Regions from separate parts of the Homo sapiens genome. Here region 1 is linked to region 2. The links are contacts of gene promoters, found by promoter capture Hi-C in human tissues and cell types (Jung and others, 2019). All regions are on one chromosome and are shown on one strand. The core of a region is centred on a gene start or on the middle of the fragment in contact, and the rest is flanking DNA. Distances in the headings are between cores, read along the strand shown.

Region 1 (2,700 bases), core at 51-2,550, 150 kb before region 2:
TAATTATTACAAACAGGAAAGGAACAAGAAACACAAAAAATCAAAACAGTAACTCTTGGTGGGGAGACGGACAGAGCTGAGATTGGGGATGAACACAGGGAACTTCAACAGTTTGGCAATTCCTCCAGAAGAAAACCCCAACATAAGGATTTGAGCATAAGTAGTTTATTCAGGAGGTTATCACAGGAAACACTAGTGAACTACTTATTTCCCTGCGAAAGCAGAGAAGACAGATGAGAAGAAAGTAAATCCATATAGGCTAAGTTAATAAGCGGGTTATTACTGTGGACAACTGGGGCTCGATTTCACGTGGAGACTGTTTCCTCTTTGAGACTATATAACCGCAATTATTTTTGCACCAATCTAATAAAATATCAGTGTTCCTACCTGAAGGCAGGGGGCTTGGATATTTATCCACAAGCTTTTCCTCATTATTAGTTGAGGGCTGTTCCTGGTAACCTTAACTCCCTGGCACTTCCAGCATGCTCTGCCTGCAGGAGATAAGCATATTTCTAAGGCTAGAGTGCACAGAGGCATATCATCTCAGGTGCTTAGAGGAGACAGCCATTACTGCCTTTTAGAAATACTGAGTACCAAGGAGATATGCCTTCTATTATACTAGTCTACTTCTTAAATTGGGGGTAGTAAAAAGGGTATTTATTGTATTATGTGTCCTATATACATGAAATGTATATTAAGTGGACATATTCCTTAAATTACCATTTTATTCTTTGCAAGGTGTTTGTTAGAAATGTGGACTTCTTAATATGTTTTTGTTTTCACCGATCTGCTCATTTGCAGCAATGGGACCATAGACTCCCTAGAGTCACTGGGCTGTAACACATTATTTGAAAAAGTTGGCCCTTCATTGCAGGAAGGCAGTTGTAATTAAGTTTAAATATGGTATTTTACCAAGCAGCAGGAACTAATTTGCAATAACTTTAGAAACTATATTTTAGGAAAATAGCATGATACGAAATTAAACTCGATTTGTGTGTCTGGTTTTTTTTTTTTTTTTTTAGTATGTGGATCATTTTTATATAGTAGGATTTTGGTATTTGGGGTTTCAGAGTTCATATACCATGGGCTATGAAAGCTTTTTTAATTATAGTTAACTCAAATTCCAATTATAGTATTCCAAGCAGAAACAGTTCTATAAAATCCTCTATTGTGTGGCTGGCATGTTACAGTTTCATTTATTAAGCCAAATGCACTATAGGCTAAGCTTAAGGAGGAGGATCATTCAATTGACCAAGGCAAACAGAGCTGACAACTGGACTATACTTTACAGAACAATACATTACAGTTGGACTCAAGGGGGAAACTGGGAAACGTGGTAATTTGTACCTGGTTACACAAATGGCCAAAGGTGCCTGAATTATTTTTAGAGAATTATTGTTGTCCTTTCAAAATCCTTAGAGCCAATAGCTCTACATAAGGTAAGTTAAACAGACAACAAATATTTATTCACTATATTATCCCTTTAATAGAACAGCTTTTAAAAAAAAAAAATTGAAGAAGTTTTTCAAGGTTCGTTTTGAAAAAAGTCCTAAAGCCTCTAATACAATGCATATCTGTATTCTTTAATACAAGTTTTAATATAATGCTCTGTCAACAACTACCTCCAAGGTAGCTGAAGGTTAATAAAACACTTTTTACAAAGGAATTGACAATTCACTAGCTTGAAGGTCCTTAATTGTTCTCTGAACAAGACCAGACTCACCAGTCTATATCTGAAGGTGGATCTCTATTTACATTGTCTAAAAATTGACCAGAAGCTGTGGAATAAGCTGTTTCAGAATAGCTCACAAAGGCTAAATCTATAGAGGTAGAGATGAGGGCATAATAGAAGAGTTGGTAACGTAACATGTTTAGTGGGACATTTCTAACAGAGATCATGAGAGTAAAATGCACTGTGATTCCCTTTAATTTTACCTACCAATTTTTGCCCAGGCCTATTTGATGAGGCAGACCAACTTAGTATGCCTTTGTAACTGTACACATTTCCATTTTATAGTCGTTAAAATGGATTAATCATTAGCATTTGAAGATTCTATTTTTTCTCCTTCATACACAAACCCAATAAATAAATGGACAGATGGATGGATGGATGGATGGATGGATGGATAACTATAATTTAAATTGGAAATTTTGACTGATACAACAATATACAAAATACATTTCAAAGTGAAACGTTGGACCAGAGAGCCTAAATTTCAAGGATGGTGACTGATATTAAGTTCTAATACCCACAACATAGATATGTAAGATTATGGTAATTGAGAGAATTTTGTGAGGATTATTTCAGTGGAAAAATAAATGTACTGTGAAGGAACAGTGATGATGGTTGTATGTACTACATTTCAAGATAGTCACTGAACTCCATAAGTATTTCCTGCACAATCTTGTATTTAAATTTTTGGTATCTTGTTCATCATGGTTTTTTATATTAATAATTATTTTTAAAAATTTTCTTAAGGTATGTTTATCTTGGCCAGGCACAGTGGCTCACACCTGTGATCCCAGCACTTTGGGAGGCCGAAGTGGGCAGATCACCTGAGGTTGCAAGTTCAAGACCAGCCTGGCCAACATGGCAAAATCCCGTCTGTACTACAAATACAAAAATTAGTTAGGCATGGTGTGCCTGTAATCCTAGCTACTTGGGAGGCTGAGGCAGGAGAATCGCTTGAACCCAGGAGG
Region 2 (2,700 bases), core at 190-2,689:
GGCGCCCACCACCACGCCCGGCTAATTTTTTTTGCATTTTTAGTAGAGACGGGGTTTCACCGTGTTAGCCAGGATGGTCTCGATCTCCTGACCTCGTGATCCGCCCGCCTCGGCCTCCCAAAGTGCTGGGATTACAGGCGCGAGCCACCGCGCCCGGCCTCTTTTTCTTTTTTAATGAAATAATAGAGCTAGTAGAAAATAGTTTGCTTTTTAAAGTGCTTACTTAATAAAATAAAAAGTGGGCAACTCGAAATAAAAAATCAAACAATATCTAACATGTTTAAAAGATTTTTAAAAATCAAAATATAAAATAATATCAAAATTTAAAAACTGGGATTCTGTTCCCCAAAGTTCTGTTCAAATCTGTTAGATTTATCTTCCCTTGACCCTAAGTAATATCTTGGGCAAGCCCTAGAGCTTCTTTCCTGACCCTTAGTTAATAAGATGTTATCTGGTCACATTCAGTCACAATAATAGACTCATTTTAGTAATAAACATCTTAAGACTAGTAATTAAAACTCTTTACTTCACACCAAGTTTCCTCCCCAAGCTTGGCCTGTTCCTGGCTGGCAGCCTGAAGTAGGGAAAGGAGAGATATGGTGACCTTTTCTTTGTACCTTTCTAGCTACCCTCTATACCCTGACCCTACATACATAATTGAGCTGTGGCTTCTGACTCTACTGGGTTTGGGGATGAGAGGCATTGAGAGTAAAATGAAGGAGTGGTTTTAATTAATGGCACAGCTAAAACTGGATTTTGTTCTCTCTGCACATGGCAGATGTTTAAAGCTCATTCTTTCTTTTATGCAAGTTTTTACACCATCCAGCCTCATTTGTACCTCTTGAATTTTTGCTCAGTGGCCTATCACCATTCAGGATCAAGACAAAAATCAATGAGCACTTATTGTGTGTCATGCACCCTACAAAGTGCCAGGATATTTATCCAAACTCCTGGCAATGCTAAACACAATGCAAAAAGACATATTAGAAAACGAATCTTATTAACTTTAACTTTTCAACTGTATTTCATCATAAAGTCTTACTTTACAAGATAATTGCTGTTGTGAAAAAGGGAAAGGTCATGGTCTCATTTCCCAGATGTTATTTGATATATGCTATAAATTATATTACCTCCAACATAGTCTGCACTTTGAACTTAGAAAAACAATCTTCAGACGGCATGCATTCTAATTCTTGAAATAAGTATGCCCACAAACTGTAATTTAAGACAGAATAGGTATGCTTCTCATGTTTTAATTCAGTTGAATTTCAGAAGATCTCAGGAATGTACAGAACGAGAATTAAGAATTAATTAATAAGAATTAATTAATTGCTTGACATAGTTAGGTGATTTCCTGAACTTTAAGCTTCCACATCACAGTATGAAGTTGGTTCTAAGATAAGAAATATAATAAATTCTCGCCCAAGGACAGACCTGAATCTCTAGCTGCCTAGAGGCTGACTCAACTGAAATCATGGCGTTTGACAGCACTTGGAAGGTAGACCGGAGTGAAAACTATGACAAGTTCATGGAAAAAATGGGTAAAGACTTTATTTCTTTGTGGCTCATTCTTTGCTTTCTTACAAACATTTTTCTTTCTAACTCCTAAATCTCTAGGAGATTACAGATAGCTTACAGATAGCTCCTGATGTGGTAGAGAGGATCCAGAAGATGTTCAGAGGAGGGAAACCATATTCTCCCTTCTTACATTAGGAAGAATCCACTATCTCACTAATGGAAGAAAAGATTCTTTGAGTGCTGTTCTCTGAAACACACCAAAAAGATCCAGAAATGTTTCCTTCCCTCTTTAACTGAAAAATGACTTTTTTTGTTGTTTACAGTAAGAAAATGGCAGCGTGTAATGATAACTTCCAGATCTGAAAATGTTAAATTCTAGGAGATGGAAAAACAAAGACCATATAAGAAAGTAATGGAAAAGGTTCTCTTAAAATTTATAGCGCTGAATAAGTTAGATTTAATTCTGATTTCTTCTAACTTAAAAAAGTTTTGGAATAATCTTGAGAAGCTGTGTAGTTTTCTCCAGGGCGTTTAATTTAACTGATTTATAATTTGATACCAATACTCTGGCAGCCCATATACTATACAAGATAGGCAAACAAATTTGTGTCATTCCCCTAAAAGAAAAATCTGCATCAATTATAGCTTACAGTTTAGGAACTCTAAGTTTAAATTTATAAAAGTTGTAGATTCTTATAGTGATTTTGGCTTAATATTTGCTAATTTTCTCATTTTTGTGTCAGAAAGAAATGCCACAAGAAGCAAATAGAACTATAAAGTTCAAAATGTTAAAGCCACTAAGAAAAACAAAGGGGCATTTAAGAAAAAAGAATACTGTATATGTGGAATTAAAGATGTGCTTCCTTATAAATATATGAATATACATTTTAATCCTTCATTTGATATTTCTAGAATTTGATTTACTTAACACTGAAATGAACAGTTTGTTAATCTTATTAAGGTTGCTCAGCTCTAAGATTCTATAATTCTGTACTCTACTTAATTTTTCTCAAGTTATGGAAAAACAACTTTAATCAGTTCTCTTGATCTGATTGAACCTGAACTTCTGTAGAAGCAATCTGAATGTTCTTGTGCAAAGGCAATGCTACCGAGTTTTCTTCCCACCCTCAAAATAAACAAACAAAACATAACTTGGAAAAATAAACACTTCCTATGGGATTT

Evidence for each region. The method cuts DNA at HindIII sites, captures the fragments that hold promoters and counts their contacts. A contact is called where the count stands out against the background at its distance.
Region 1: a contact is called between a fragment that was not itself captured here and the fragment with the promoter of FABP2 in region 2, in 2 of the 25 tissues and cell types used here (H1 embryonic stem cells and dorsolateral prefrontal cortex).

Annotation. Positions count from the first base shown.
Region 1 is chr4:119,472,873-119,475,572 of GRCh38, reverse strand. It overlaps the pseudogene SEPTIN7P14. Among named protein-coding and RNA genes, the nearest start is that of LINC01061, 64 kb to the right of the region's middle. The HindIII fragment of the contact is 3,030 bases long and covers 1-2,700 here.
Region 2 is chr4:119,320,877-119,323,576 of GRCh38, reverse strand. It overlaps FABP2 (fatty acid binding protein 2), which reads left to right and starts at 1,439. Exons shown (of 4, transcript NM_000134.4): 1 at 1,439-1,541. The coding sequence starts at 1,475. The HindIII fragment of the contact is 4,027 bases long and covers 1-2,062 here.